Regions from separate parts of the Homo sapiens genome. Here all the other regions are linked to region 3. Evidence: promoter capture Hi-C in 16 types of primary human blood cells and fetal thymus (Javierre and others, 2016). All regions are on one chromosome and are shown on one strand. The core of a region is centred on a gene start or on the middle of the fragment in contact, and the rest is flanking DNA. Distances in the headings are between cores, read along the strand shown. Region 1 has its middle 19 kb from the start of PCSEAT. Region 2 overlaps LOC105372809 (a long non-coding RNA gene). Region 3 holds the start of RIPK4 (receptor interacting serine/threonine kinase 4). Region 4 overlaps LOC105372809 (a long non-coding RNA gene). Region 5 holds the start of ZNF295-AS1 (ZNF295 antisense RNA 1).

Region 1 (3,075 bases), core at 380-2,879, 170 kb after region 3:
CAACGAGAGGCTGTCGCCATCTGTAAAGTCTTCATGCTTTTTGAACAAGGGATCCGCCTCCCGAGTAGCTGGGATTCGGCTGGGACCTCAGCCTCCCGAGTAGCTGGGACTACAGGTGTGCACCACCACGCCTGGCTAATTTTTGTATTTTTTTGTAGAGATGGCGATTCGCCATGTTGCACCAGACCCAAGCAATCTCCCCGCCCTGGCCTCCCAAAGTGCTTGGATGACAGACATGAGCCACAGTGTCCGGCTTCGGCTGAATCTTCTTCAGGGCCTCTCTCCAGGTTGAAGCCAGGGAGTGGGTGGTGGCCTCAGTCTTCTGAAGTTTTAAGCAAGCAGGGGCCCTCTGCAGGCTCCTTAGTGGTTGCTGGCAGGATCCAGTTCTATGAGCCTGAGGGTCTCAGTTCCTTGCTGGCTGTTAGCCAGAGACTGTCTGTGTAGTTCCTCGACATGTGGATCTAACACAGCTTGTTGCTTTACCAAAGTGAGCAAGCTGAGAAGGCCATACAGAGAGAGTCCCGCAAGAAGGAAGTCAGAGGTTTTTGACACCTAGAGCAGAGATGTTCCATTACTCTTGATGCATTCTGTCCATCAGAAGCAAGTCACCAGGTCCAGCCCCACTCATGAAGAAGGAGTCACACAAGGAAGCAAATTTCGAGAGGCGATCACCGAGGGTCATCCCAGAGGCTACCCAGCCAGCCCTGAGTATTCAGGGTGGAGTTAGCTGGACACAGCGGTGATGACTGATGCCCACTGTGCACTGCTTGTTTGCCAGCCCTGTGCTCAAGGCCTTCTGTGAATTACATCTGACTCCAGGACGTGCATCCTGTTGGTCTTCCTGCTCACATCTAGTAGCACAGAGAAGGTAAAGGGACTGACGAGGGCAGAGCCTGGTGCTAACCCCCCATCCTCTTGATGCCATAGGCTCAATCTGATCACTAGCCATGATCTTGGCCTTTCTCAAAGTGCAGGGGTTTGCTCTAAGTGGGCTTCCTGAAGAAGGTGGTATTGGGTGCAATTATGAAGGAAGGAGACGCTGGTGACATAACAACCTGGATGAAGGATGTTCTCACTGCGGAAATGGCAGGTGCCAAGATGTGGTTCCCTGATGCTGGGCTGTGGAGGTGGCGATATGGCCTGAGGCTAACTCCATTTGCACATTCTGGACACTGCTACCCTCTGGAGATATGCTGCTACTCTTGGTATTTGTATTTGTCAGTTTTCTCGCTGCTGATAAAGACATACCCCAGACTGGGCAATTTATAAAAGAAAGAGGTTTATTGGACTTACAGTCCACATGTCTGGGGAGTCCTCACAATCATGGTGGAAGGCAAGGAGGAGCAAGTCACATCTTATGTAGATGGCAGCAGGCAAAGAGAGTGCTTGTGCAGAGAAACTCCCATTTTTAAACCCATCAGATCTCATGAGACCCATTCACTATCATAAGAACCGCACAGGAAAGACCCGCCCCCATGATTCAATCATCTTTCACCGGGCCCCTCCCACAACATGTGGGAATTTTGGGAGCTACAAGGTGAGATTTGGGTGGGGACACAGAGCCAAACCATGTCAGTATTCTTGATAACAACCCCATTGCCACCCAGCCAACGTTGACTCTTGGCCTGGGTTTACAGGTGACAAAATGCCAAACAATGACCAAGCCACCTCTCGAGGCACTCTCATGACCATGTGCCCTGTCTGGGCTCCTCCCTGCACACAGGCATCACAAACCACAAGCGCAAGACAAACACATTGCACAATGCCAGGAGGAAGTGCACCGGTGTTAGCATTGGCGACCACCCGAGCGTCTCAGATAAATCAGTCCTTTCCCCATCTGGGGATCTGTTCTTCTGTTAGTTACAAGTACAAGGGTCTGCCTGCCTCACACGGATGCAGATGTTTTAGAAGTCAGTTTTCTCTGTGTTTCTTGCTCTGGTTCAACAAGTAAGAGCCGAGAGACAGAATTTGGAGCCAGAAAGCCAAGAGGTTGACATGGCAGCGGCGGTTCTGTCGGTGGGGCTCTCCCCCAGGCTGTGCACTCGGAGAGCCTCATGTGCAGGTCTAAGCTCTGCTGGCTCGCAGCCACCAGATGGGAGAGGGTGTAGGAGTTCCCTACAGCAGCGGTGACAAAGGACCACAAAACGGGTGGTTTAAAACAGTAGAAACGGATTCCCTCACAGTTCTAGAGGCCAGACGTCCACAGTCAGTTTCACTGGGCTGAAACCAGGGTGTGGGCAGGGCCGGTCCCTCTGGATGCTCTGGGGAAGGTCCTTCCCTACACCTCCCAGCTTGTGGTGGCTACCAGTGTTCTCCAGGGCTTGTGGCTGCACTGCCCTCATCTCTGCCTCCATGGCCACGCTGTCTCCTCTTCTGCAGTGAAGTCTTCCTCTGCCTTCCTCTCACATGGTCTCTTGCAATGCCATTTAGGGCCCACCTGGCTAATCCGGGATAATTTCCCCACCTTAAAATCTTTAACTCAATCACATCTGCAAAGTCTTTTTTTTTTTTGCCATGTCACATCACATTCACAGTTCCAGGTATCCAGATGTGACTATCTTTTGGCAGCCATTATTCAGCCTCTGACAGACAGTAACTGCAGGACAAGGAGATGCCCTTGGCCATCTGTTAGGCTCTGGGGAACCTCTGACCTCTGTCTCTGCACTGTAGGTGCCCACTGACACCCATGGAGGGCAAGTCTAGACTGGCGAAGGTAAGAAAACATGTTGGGGTTGGAGATGACCTTGGTACCCAGAGGGCACCCCTGGTGAGGGTCATCTCTTCATCTTCTCCTTCCTCCTGTCATACCCCAGGGCTGCATGGGACACCAAGACAACGACCACGCCCACCTCCAACCCAGAAAGCACAAACTCCAGGAACGTCCCAGGCTGTCATCCTGGGGCAGAACCAGCATTGTGTGTCATGTTCCTGCGGCCTAGGCATGGCAACAGTGGGTCTCCACCCTGACCCTGAGTCGAGGGGTGAGTTTGAATCCTATCCCAGAGTGCATCACGGTCTAGGATCCTGTCCTTGTGGGTTCCTAGTGGGACATGAAGGCGGGGCAGCTGGGGCCTG
Region 2 (2,968 bases), core at 234-2,733, 210 kb after region 3:
TAGATAGAATTTAGAGATCAACTAATTCAGAATCTTCCTTGATCACAGTGAACTAAATTAGAGCAAAAGACCTAGAGGTCTGCCAGTATCTACCCATGTTCATGCTGCATCAGAAAAAGAATTTTGTGATAACAACAAAATGGAGACAAGGAAATATTCAACTTGCCCTAGAAATGTTTATGAATGACTTATTTATGCTTCAATTAGAAGAGAATATCGACTTATATATATTACTTGAATTATGAACAACACTCTATACAGTTACAAATAATATGATAGTTTTAATATACTTACTGTGAGAAAATTTTGCCTATATTTTCATGTGTGCAGATTTACAGGCAGCAGATTGTTAATGCCTGAATAAGGCCTGTAGGGATTAGGCTGCATCCACTATGTTTATCTGGCAGAGAAAGTTCAGGTAGCACATGTGACCTCCAATGGTACAAGGCTCCAGGCTTAGTTACAGGAAAATCCTAGACAGTTCTATTAACATATTACTCCTGAGTTAACCAAACAACACAAATTGATTAACAATTTGTTAACTCAAGAGTAAAATCAAATTGATAATACTAAGACTGATATTAAGAGTAATTTATAAGCAGAAAGCATGAAGCAGCAATGGAAAACCACAGCCAACTCAAAACAACACTAATGATACCACAAATTGAAAATCTTCAGCAATCACAATCACTGAATATGTTCCTAAATATTCTTCCCCCTCAAAAAATAACCTTCTAAGAGATTAGTAGGTTGCTTTCCACTTAAATTCTCATGAAGTCTTTTATAAGGCATTCTTATACTTGCTTTTTAAACTCATGTTTTTATTGTGAAACATAACATCAATAGCTTTTCTACAAAAGGCCAGTTTCTTTTTCCAGGAGGCACAGTAGCCTGGATTGACCTCAATCTGTGCTTGCTGGGGACGTCCAGAGTAGCCAAGGGGGTGAATCACTAACAGTAGATAAAGAAGAAAAGATATTTAACACTGATTGAATTATTCCAGGAGGTATGACCTCATATTCAGAGGTGTAGGGTGTTAAAAATAAGCCTTGTTGGAGGTTGCAGTGAGCCGAGATCACGCCACTGCACTCCAGCCTGGGTGACAGAGTGAGACTCCATATATATAAAAAAAAAAAAGCCATGTAAAGACCACATTAAGAGCAATAGGTTGTCTATGTTGTGTAAATTCTCTTACAGGCCGGGCGCGGTGGCTCACGCCTGTAATCCCAGCACTTTGGGAGGCCGAGGCGGGTGGATCATGAGGTCAGGAGATCGAGACCATCCTGGCTAACAAGGTGAAACCCCGTCTCTACTAAAAATACAAAAAATTAGCCGGGCGCGGTGGCGGGCGCCTGTAGTCCCAGCTACTCGGAAGGCTGAGGCAGGAGAATGGCGTGAACCCGGGAAGCGGAGCTTGCAGTGAGCCGAGATTGCGCCACTGCAGTCCGCAGTCCGGCCTGGGCGACAGAGCGAGACTCCGTCTCAAAAAAAGAAAAAAAAAAAAAAAAAAAAAAAAAAATTCTCTTACAAAAGGAATGAAAAAGAAACAATGTTCTAATGTTGTATAAATAGTACTTATAGCTAGGGATAAAGTTTCCAGCAACAGTATCTTGAAGTCAGCAGAGCTCAAAGAAATTAGGGGAAACTGAAGACCTTATAATGTTCTCTTGGAAAAGATTAGCTCAAAAGGCACGTCTGTGACAAGAAGACTGCATGTCATAGAGGCAAGGAGAGTTAGAATGAAATGGCTTCATCAAATGAGAGCTTGGGGAAAAAAACAATGTGGCAAATTGGAATTTATATACACACAACCTCTGACCTTTCTAATGTGTGTCATGAAATTAACACATTTTATATTTTAAGTAAAGATCGGACTAATCCACATTGTTAAATTGTCTATGGATTTTCTCATAGGACGGTGTCTTTAATGGCCAGTGTGGCCTAGTTCCCGGGATATGAGGCAGCTTCATGAACAAGGGAGAAGCGGGAAGCGCTCGGGGCACCGTCGGGGCCACTTTGGAATTTTTTGTAAAGTAGCAGGCTGCTCATTTTAGCTAGGGAATACATAGCATTAGTAGTGATCTTTTTTTTTTTTTTCTTTAAGACAGAGTTTCCTTCTGTCGCCAGGCTGGATTTGCAGTGGCATGATCTCTGCTCACTGCAAGCTCCGCCTCCTGGGTTCACGCCATTCTCCTGCCTCAGCCTCCCAAGTAGCTGGGACTATGGGCGCGAGACACCACACCCAGCTAATTTTTTTTTTTTGTATTTTTAGTAGAGACGGGGTTTCACCATGTTGGGCAGGGTGGTCTCGATCGCTTGACCTCGTGATCTGCCCGCCTCGGCCTCCCAAAGTGCTGGGATTACAGGCGTGAGCCACCGCACCCGGCCTGTAATCTTTAATAATTTATTTCATAGGCTATAGGCAAATAGCTCATTGCTTTACACAAACTAAAATCAACATGGCTCTGCCTCTTTTCCAGGTGAAAACCCAAAGCAGGCTGGTTCTTCTTGCCGGCTTCCTCCCAGACCCGTGCCTGGCCGGGGAGGGGCCACACTTGGAGAATTCCTGCTATAGATGGGTCAACATCCGGGAGTGGTGTTTCTCTCAGGACAGAATGAGCTAAAGGAGAGAAACTCTACCTGAGAAAAACAGGAAAAGAGGAAACTTGAGACAACTCAGAGCTTGGGTTCCTTTAGTAGCAGTACTCTTTTGTTTCTCAGGTCGATCAGCTACAGTGTGGCAAATACAAAGCAAAAAAAAAAAATTCACTTCTGTGAATTGTGCTGTGATGAACACACCATGCATGCGTCTTTACAGTAGAACAATGAATATTCCTTTGGGTATATGCCCAATAATAGGATTGCTGGGTCGAACGGTAATTCTGCTTTAAGTTCTTTGAGAAATTGCCAAACTGCTTTCCACAATGGCTGAACTAATTTACGTTCCCTTTTCTCTACAACCTTGCCA
Region 3 (2,935 bases), core at 1-2,500:
GATGTGTGAGTTCCCTCCAAAGAGCGGCCGGATGGGAGTGGGGAGGCAGTGGGGAGACGCGGCTCCCCGCTACAGGCTATGAAAGAAGGTCCGCGCCCGTTTGGAAGGGGGAGCCTGGAGACACTAGGTCTGCGGCTTTCAATGCGCTGACTTGGGGCAGCCTCTCTCTTTCCGAGTTACTAACACAAAAACACAGTTAATGTCGTTAAAATACCCTCTCCTTTAGCTCCGCCCTCCTGTCTTCATTATTAATCTCCTGTGGCCAAAAATAAGCCTTCACTCACCGTTGCGTCTCAGGAATGAGTGAGTGTTTTCTGAGGTGTGGACGCGTGCGTGATCTGTGATGCACTTCGGCCTCTAACCCAAATATCCTTCCAAGGCTGGGAATTTTTTTTCCCCATATGTGAAAAAAAAATCTTTCCTTTTCAAACCATCTGTTCTACCTGTAAAAAGAGGCTGTTATTTAGGAAAGGATGAGGGAACTCTTGCATTTGAAATGGACTTTAGATTTGCTGTTGGGTAATTTTTTAAAAAAAGTTACTTTCTGAGAGGAAACTCGTGTAAAAAAGCAAGACGTGAACCTGCAGGGAATTAGACTAACGAGTGAAGAAAGCCAATTTCAAAAAATTAGGCGCTGTATGATTCCTGTATCTAAACATAACATTTCTGAAATAAAACAATTTTAGAAATAGAGGAAAGATTAGTGATGCCAGGGCTCCGGGGTGCGGCTGTAAAATCGCCACAGGAGTGGCCAGGTGGGGGTGGATACGGGAAGGTACACAGATGATTACATTGTGTAAAACTAATACATGCAAAGGAAGACGAGTAAAACGGCAAAACTGAATAAGATCGGTGACTGTATCAAAGTCAATATCCTGGTTGTGAGATTGGACTTTTTTTTTTGGCAAAGTTTTGCAAAGTGGTAACACTGGGGGAAACTAGGCAAAGTGAATGATTTCTTACAACTGCATGTGACTCCGCAATTAAGGAAAAAAAAAAAGCAAAGAAAAGCAGGGCAGCTGATGCGCACGTCGAGACCCGTGAGAAGCGTGAGAAGCTCTGCTCACCCAGGGGAGAGCGCAGTGACCCGCAGCGTCTATTCATCCGTCCGCAGTCACCGGGCGCTGGCAGAGAGGGCGCCCGGGGGGCGGGTAAGTGGGCGGGGCCTGGGGGCGGGACGACCTACGGAAGTGACGTAACAGGGCGGAGCGCGCACCTGGGCACCTGGGCAGCCGCCGCGGCGCTGGCTAGACGTGCGCGATGGAGGGCGACGGCGGGACCCCATGGGCCCTGGCGCTGCTGCGCACCTTCGACGCGGGCGAGTTCACGGGCTGGGAGAAGGTGGGCTCGGGCGGCTTCGGGCAGGTGTACAAGGTGCGCCATGTCCACTGGAAGACCTGGCTGGCCATCAAGTGCTCGCCCAGCCTGCACGTCGACGACAGGTGAGCGGCCCGGGCGGGGCGCTGGGGCGGCTGGGGCCCGGGCTGGGGTCGGGGTCGGGGTGCTCTGGTCCCGGGGTCCTGCCTCTCTCTCCCGAACTCACCCCCGGAGCAGCTTCGGGGGGGAAACCAATTGCCGGCGAGGCCGCGGGGCTCCGACAATGTCCACTCGGCCTGTCCGGGCCGGAGGGGCGCGGGGGCTTTGGCGAGCCCGGGCTCGATCGCGCACGTCGGGGCCGGGTCAGGCGGCTCCTCTGGGGCTCCTCTGGGGCTCCTCGGGGGCCGCGTCTGCCCGGACGTCCTAAGGCGCCCAGTCGTGCTTCCTGACACTCCCCGAGTGGCCCTGGTTTTCGGGGTCTCCAGCTCGCCTTGCGCCTCGGACCCGCGCCCTTGGGAGGCGCGTCCGGCCCGCCCGGGACCCACCGGGGCGCTGCGGTCTGCGCAGGGCTTAGAAAAATTGCCATGTGGGCCTCTGGGCTTTGTGAGTGGAGTTAGCCTCCGTTCGACTTACTTAGTAATTTACGTTGGAACACAAATTGGTGTAAGACTGTAATTATTTCGGTCGGAAGCTTCGGCTTGGCTCGGGCGAGGCTTCCCGGGCGCCCGGCGCTTGCGCGGTGGAGCTCCGGGGCTCGGGCCTGGCAGTGGGGTCCGGCACGGGGCCCGGGGTGTTGATCCGTCCGCCCAGCGCTTCCTCGCCGCACACTCTCGTTTTAGCTGACTTAATTTCGAGACCGACCCGCTAGGGAAGGGCCTTGCATTCAAGTTCTGTGGCCGTGCCATGGGGCCCTCCTGCACCCCAGTTTCCCAGTCCAAAAGTCAGAATGGAACCTGCCTGTACCTACCTAGCAGGAGTGTTCAAGGTAACAAAGACGAATGGGAAGGACGCAGAGCCGCCCGTGTTAAATTCGGTGGGTCGGTTGTCGTCTGTGCATAATTTGAGAGGTAGGGAGAATGTTCTTGAACAGTACCTCTTTGTTGTTGTAGATTTCACTGTTTACAGTTGATTTTGATGGTTCATATGTAAGGCTCAATTTAGCACGTTTTAATTATTTATCCTTTAATGAAGCTTACCTTCTACATGGAAGCTATGCTTGTATTTTACCTAGAGATTCCTTGAACACATACACTCAGAAGCGACACCTTTTTAAAATACCATTTAGCCTTTGCTGCCTGGCAGACCTGGTTTCGAATGCTCGGCTGATTGAGTGATGGGGCCGCTAAGCCCCAGCTTTTCTGCAGAATCGTTGTGATGCCTGTGTCTGGGGTGGCAGTGCGTGCTGCAGCCCCATACCGTGACTGTGACGCCTCTGTGGATGAGAGGCCTGTCCTCTCCCTTTGCATTTTCGTCCTTGGCTAGGAGACTACACAGCAGAGATAGTGGTGGCTTTTTGCCGTAACCCTCAAATCCAGTGTTTCTTGGAAACACCAGTAGAGTGGTGACGAGTGTCATCAAATCACCACTAGTTCAAAGGTGAGATGCTGGCCCAGGCTGT
Region 4 (3,159 bases), core at 525-3,024, 190 kb after region 3:
CAAATTGTTTCTAAGCAATCTCTTAAATACTTGTTTGGCATTTTATCAAAGATTGCCAGAAGCACAGGAGACGTGACAACCTAACTTAGAACTAGCAGAAAGATCTGGCACACAAGCACCCTAAATAAAATAATTATCAGACACAGTCTCCAAAATAATTGTGTTTATGGTGTTCAAGGATATGAAAAACAAGATTTAAAATATTAATAGAATACCAAACATATTCATCTGTGGAAGTTAGAGCAGCTTTGGGGGAAAAAAAGAAATTCTAGAACTGAAAAATACAATAACAAATTAAAAATGCAAGGAGCATGTTTTACAACAGAATGGAAACAGCTGAAGAGAGAATTATTAAACTGGAAGATAGACCACAAGAAAATAGCCAGATTTAAGCAAGCAGAGACTAAAGATGAGAAAGACAAGAGAGAATATTAGACTTGAAATACATGGCGAAAGGACCAGAGTTTCAGGATGAGAGAAGAAAGAAAATGGACAGAAGCAATATTTGAGGAGATAGCAGCTGAGAAAATAATTTATTTCTTCTCTTTATTTTATGGGGAGTTTAGAGTTTTTTCTGAGCTTAATTCTTAGGAAGATGAAGCACTTTTAAAGTGCTCATTAATCACTATCAAATAAGTAGAGAGTAAAAGCCTCTGTTTTTAATTAAAGATAACTTAAAGTAGTTCTAAACAGAGTTATTTTAAAATAGACTAATCAATTAATATTGGAAACAGGGTTATCTTAGCCAATATTCTATTAATATCTATTTTGGTACTTTGGGAAAATAGTGGAATGATTTCTTAACCACTTGAAAATAGTCAAACTACGATTGTTCCCTGAGAGTTAAACCTTACAATACAGAAGTAGCTGATCAGGGCAAAGATGTGCAAACCTTTCTTAATGACACAGAGTAGTGCCCAGGAAAGCTTAACTTGACAACGACCTGAATGATGTCATGTCTTAATCAATTAGGTGTGTAAATGAAGGGCCAATTTTATCAGCCAAGTAAGCAGAGTAAAAGGAGGGTCACAGAGACAAAGATTGGCTGGGCCTATAGAAACTTAGTCTAGGGGCAAGGACGATAAATATTCCCATACCCTAAACAAGACTCTTCCATCAAAAGATTCCATATATCCCATTTATCCAGCTGACTCCCTTGTTGTGAGCCCAGATCTACCATTGCAATTCTCTGATTATAGTTTGGATTCCTAGGCTCTCTATGAAGAAAAATGGTCTCTGGTGATTGTGTACTTCACTATAAATTGTAAGTTAGTGTTACGGTTTATACATCAGTCTCTGTTACATTGATTAATGTGAGTCTACTACTACAGATGCATTCATTGAAAAGCCAGGGATCTGAATCCATAGGACAGGGAGCCAAAATATAGAACAGGTTATATTTGTCAAGGTAATGCCATTCTATGGTTCTCTTAGATTTGTTTTTCATTCTTGAAGTTAAAGTCCTGGCACTGTCATTGTCTATTTTTTTTTAAAGTTAAAGCAATATAATCATATATTTAAGAACTGTATCTACTATTAAAAGATATCATAAAACAGCTTATCCTTCTCTCACTCCCACCCAATTCCTCAAAGATAATTAATCACTCCTCATTTCTTGTAGAATTTACCATCATAACTTTGAAGTCCTGCATACACTCTATTTATTTTTTATTGAATATGTTGATGAAAAAAATTAGAAACATGATGAGTCTCTACTGTCTTGGAAGTTTTCCTGTCTTTATTTATGATTGATTATTAAAATAGTTCAACTATTGGATTAACATTTTTCATATGTGCTTTCTTATTTTTGATTGCTTTTCTTTTACATCATGCTGTTTTGGTTTTAAGAATGTACAAATTCATAATAATTTTTTGACAATTTCCTCTATTCCCAGAATAATTTCTTTGTCCTTTACATGTTAAAATTCTATTTATTTGTTTTGGTTTCGCTGGTATATTATAGCCTTTCCCAGCTTTATATTTGTGGTGGACAGACTCTTCAAATGGCCTCAGTAAGCCGCCCCCATCCTGGAGTTCATGACCTTGTTCAATTCCTTCCCCATGAGTGTGGGAAGGATCTGTGACATGCATCTAACCAACTGACTACCGCAAAGGTGGCCAGATGTCCATGATTACAATAATGTAAAATTTAACATCAGTTTTGTTGGACTCTCTCTCTCTCTGCTTTGCTGGTTTTGAGAAGGCACGTGGTCATGTTGGATAACCCACGTGGCAGGAACTAAGGGCACCTCTAGGAGCTGAGGTGGTCTCTGAACAACAGGAAATTGAAGCCTTCAGTCCAACAACTGCAAAGAACTGAATCTTGCCCATAAGATGAGTGAGCTTGGAAGTGGATCTTTTCTCTGGTTAAAGCTCAATGCAAACTTAGCCAGCCAGACACCTGGATTAGAGCTTGGCTGAGACCCAAGCAGAGGACTCAGTGAAACATGCCTGTGCTCTATTTATTATGTAAGCATTAAAAAGCTGATAAGAACCTGTGTTTCTTTTTTTTTTAACTTTAATTTTAGGTTCAGAGGTACATGTGCAGGTTTTTTATATAGGTAACTCATGGCACAGGGTTTATTGTACAGATTATTTAGTCACCCAGGTACAAAAGCTTAGTACTCAATAGCTATTCTTTCTAATCTAACCTTCTCCCACCCTCCACCCTCAGGTAGGTCCCAATGTCTGTTATTCCCCTGTATGTGTCCCCATGTTTTCATCATTTAACTCCCACTTATAAGTGAGAATGGGAAGCATTTGGCTTTCTGTTCCTGCATTAATTGGTTAAGGATAATGGCCTCCATCCATGTTCCTGCAAAGGATACAATCTTGCTCTTTTTTTATGGCTGCATAGTATTGCCTGGTGCATATGTACCACAGTTTCTTTATCCACTCTATCATTGATGGACATTTAGGTTGATTCCATGTCTTTGCTATTGTGAATAGTGTTGCAATGGATATACATGTGCATGTATGTTTATGGTAGAATGATTTATATTCTTTTGAGTATATACCCAGTAATGGGATTGCTGGGTCAAATGGACAGAAACTTTGTTACTAAAATTTAAAAAGAGTAGCCACACAAAATGTTGGCAAGGATGTGGAGCCACTGCAGCTCTCAGGCATTGCTTATGGTACAGCCACTCTGGAAGACAG
Region 5 (3,071 bases), core at 1-2,500, 240 kb before region 3:
CCGCTTGGAGGAGCCCCCTTCCCCCCGTCCGAGGTCCGCGGCTGGAGGGGCAGGGAGTCAAGACGCCACCCGTGCCGGCCTTAGAGACGCCCGCGGCAGCCCCGCCACATCTCTTCCCGGCTTTTCGGGAACACGCCCCGTAGTCCATCCTCAGCGGCTCCTGCTTTTCCATCCCAGCACACCGCTGGGGGCTCGCACTCTGCCCCCGGTTGCTATGCGGTCCCAGCCACGAGGGCTCTGCGGTTCGGGAGAATTCCGCAAGAGCGCGCGTTCGGAGGCGGGGTGTTTTTAGACAGGTGCCCCGGTGGGATTGCCTGACCGAGAGGACGGGGAAAGTTAGACTTCACACGGCCTGGGGTTTTTCCTTTCGTGCAAGCGCTCACAGCCCTGGCACCGAGCCTCCGAGGGCACGCGTGTGTTACAAAATAGTCCAGCGATTGTTCACACGATGACCCTGAGTCCTCAATTAAGCAGCTTACATTACGGTCCTCATACCTTGTTTAAGAAGACAAGAAAGTGGGTTAATCCATTTTAGAAAGATTTCTCATGGAAAATTATCTTTTAAAGCTTTCCTCGTGTACTTGGAGTAAATGATGATCTCTAAGGACTAGTAGTCATTAAGTTTAAATTTAAGCACCCCTAAATATTGATGTTAAAAAGAAAGTCAAAATTTGAAGTGCTGGTTTACTTAAAAGTAACTTTTTGTTTATTTTTCCTTTTTAACACTTTATTGAAAGTATAATGTGCTTCATTCTGTTGAAATAGAAGTTGAAGAAGATATAACCCCTGCCCTCGAGGAACTTACACTGTTGAATATTAGATGTGTACACTCTGAAGGAAAAATTGTAAATAACAAAATTGGGGTTAAGTTAAGAAGGTCTCTCGATGGAAATGAGATAATTAAAGGGACAATTTTTTCTTTTCTTTTCTTTTTTTCTTTTTTTTTTTTTTTTTTTTTTGACAGAGTTTCACTCTTGTTGCCCCAGGCTGGAGTACAATGGCGTGATCTTGGCTCACTGCAACCTCCGCCTCCCTGGTTTTGCAACCTCCGCCTCCCTGGTTCAAGCGATTCTCCTGCCTCAGCCTCCTGAGTAGCCGGGATTACAGGCTTCCGCCACATCGCCCAGCTAATTTTTTTTTTTTTTTTTTTTTTTTTTGTAGAGACGGGGTTTCATCCTGTTGACCAGGATGGCCTTGAGATCTCCTGACCTCGTGATCCACCCCACTTGGTCTCCCAAAGTGCTGGGATTACAGGCATGAGCCACTGCGCCCAGCCGAAGGGACAGTTTTAGTTGTCCGCAAAGCCAATGGAAGTAGAGAGAGCAGATTATAAGCTATGTAAGAGCTAGGTTTGACCAGGTCACAGTGATAGGCTATAAGGGAAAGAGAAGAAATTTTAGGGTCTGGCAACACACCAAAGTAAATCGGGAATATGTGAGGACAAACAGATGTGGGAGCAGGGACGAGAGTTGTGGAGTTTAAGTACCATGCTGGACCTGAGGATATACTGTGATGGAACCGTTCAGTAGGTACCTGAGAGGCTGGAGCCTCAAGAGTCTAAACAGAGATACAGATTTGGGAATCATCGTCCAGTAGTGATTAAAGTCACAAGGTCTAATAGAAAAAGCAAAGAATACTGCCACGTTTTGGGGCTCTGTAACGGATGCTGGAGAAATAAAGGTGAGCCAGTCCAGGTCTTGAGCCTCAAGTTTGATGATTTCTCTCTTTGCCCTGTACCTAGCTTGCCAGGCCTTGTGCTGGGCATCAGGGATACGTGCATGCAAACAAGGGTTCTTTCTTTAGGGAGTCCCTTGGGGGAGACACATGTAAAAGAAGATTAATTGAAGAAGTTGTGGTGTTATTACAGAGAGATGAAGTATTGTGGTAGTTTAGATGACTGAGCTGCTGGCTAGGGGCAAATTACAAAAGCTTTGTAGAGTCGGTGACATTTCAACTGGATCTTTCGAAAGAAGTTAGCCAAGTAAAGGAGAGGGAAGAGAGAGATTTTGGGTGGCAGAGGCTGGATATGCAAGTTTGTAGAGTAGATGGTAAGTAGTGTCCAATAAGGGTGGAGAGATGAATTGTAACCAGAGTATGAAAAGTCTTGTATGCCAGTCTGTAGTTTGGATTTTCTTTAGGAATAGAAAAATCAGTACAGTACTCCAAAGCAGGGCAGTGATGTAATACGCTTTACTTCAGCAAAACAACTAACAGCCATAATTTTCACTCGTGCATTTAATTGGAGTGAAGAGTACAGAAAAGTCAAATCTTTATTGTTGTGGAAGATAACATGTTGAGCATTGATAATGCCAAAAGATATTAAATAGATTATCAGTCTTTAAATAGCTTTCAGTCCTCTTGGGGAGACACAAATGACTAACAATAAAGGCAGTGAATAAACATGTAAATGGTGCTGAAGTTGAGGTATTTGCACGTTATAAGATGAAGTAGTCAAGGAAGGTATATTCATTTGCTTGGGCTGCTATAACAAAGTACTGCAGACTGGATGACTCAACAGATTTCTTTTCCCACAGTTCTGAAAGCTAGAAGTCCAAGAACAAGGTGTCAGCAGGGTTGGCTTCTTCTGAGGCTTCTCTTTGGCTTATAGATGGCATCTTCTTGTCCCTACTTGGTCCTTCCTCTGTTCATGTCTCTGTGCTAATCTTCCTCTCCTGTAAGAACACCAGTTACATCAGTTTAGGGGTCACCCTAAAGCCCTCATTTTAACTTAATTACCTCTTAGAGACCATGTCTCCAAGTATGACTACATTCTCCAGGTACTGGAGGCTAAGTCTTTATCATATAAATTTGGGAGGGAAGAGTGGGGACACAATTCAACCCATAATGGAAGATTTTATGGAGTAGCTGGAACTTGACCTGAGCTTTGAAAGGTGATTAATATTCTGAGTAGTGTGCTGAGGAGGGGTTTAGGTGAGTTCTAGGACTTTCCAGATTGGGGAGTGGGAGAAGTCAGATGTGCAGGTTAGGTCTTAGAGACAGAGTATCTGGAGCAGAAAGGGATCACTAGGGAATAACTAAGGGAAAGAAAAAAAAATTTTTTTTTTTTTTTT

What was found. Contacts are between HindIII fragments. The CHiCAGO score rates a contact against its expected background, and 5 or more counts as called.
Region 1: a contact is called between a fragment that was not itself captured here and the fragment with the promoter of RIPK4 in region 3, in 4 of 17 cell types (M0 macrophages, endothelial precursors, monocytes and 1 more). The highest score is 8.9, in M0 macrophages.
Region 2: a fragment that was not itself captured here is called in contact with the fragment with the promoter of RIPK4 in region 3 in 2 of 17 cell types (M0 macrophages and M1 macrophages); the score reaches 5.5 in M0 macrophages.
Region 4: a fragment that was not itself captured here is called in contact with the fragment with the promoter of RIPK4 in region 3 in 3 of 17 cell types (endothelial precursors, M1 macrophages and M0 macrophages); the score reaches 7.0 in endothelial precursors.
Region 5: a contact is called between a fragment that was not itself captured here and the fragment with the promoter of RIPK4 in region 3, in 1 of 17 cell types (fetal thymus). The highest score is 6.6, in fetal thymus.

Annotation. Positions count from the first base shown.
Region 1 is chr21:41,597,955-41,601,029 of GRCh38, reverse strand. No RefSeq gene overlaps it. Among named protein-coding and RNA genes, the nearest start is that of PCSEAT, 19 kb to the right of the region's middle. The HindIII fragment of the contact is 5,238 bases long and covers 1-3,075 here.
Region 2 is chr21:41,552,705-41,555,672 of GRCh38, reverse strand. LOC105372809 (a long non-coding RNA gene) reads left to right here. Exons shown (of 5, transcript XR_937738.1): 5 at 2,481-2,869. Among named protein-coding and RNA genes, the nearest start is that of PCSEAT, 26 kb to the left of the region's middle. The HindIII fragment of the contact is 6,051 bases long and covers 1-2,968 here.
Region 3 is chr21:41,765,367-41,768,301 of GRCh38, reverse strand. RIPK4 (receptor interacting serine/threonine kinase 4) reads left to right here and starts at 1,250. Exons shown (of 8, transcript NM_020639.3): 1 at 1,250-1,442. The coding sequence starts at 1,261. It overlaps LOC102724800 (a long non-coding RNA gene), which reads right to left and starts at 1,135. Exons shown (of 5, transcript XR_937745.3): 1 at 1,068-1,135; 2 at 285-443. The HindIII fragment of the contact is 2,131 bases long and covers 1-2,010 here.
Region 4 is chr21:41,575,470-41,578,628 of GRCh38, reverse strand. The region is part of intron 1 of LOC105372809 (a long non-coding RNA gene); the gene reads left to right. Among named protein-coding and RNA genes, the nearest start is that of PCSEAT, 3.4 kb to the left of the region's middle. The HindIII fragment of the contact is 1,691 bases long and covers 929-2,619 here.
Region 5 is chr21:42,006,429-42,009,499 of GRCh38, reverse strand. All of the region lies in intron 1 of ZBTB21 (zinc finger and BTB domain containing 21), which reads left to right. ZNF295-AS1 (ZNF295 antisense RNA 1) reads right to left here and starts at 306. Exons shown (of 2, transcript NR_119384.1): 1 at 1-306. The HindIII fragment of the contact is 1,362 bases long and covers 570-1,931 here.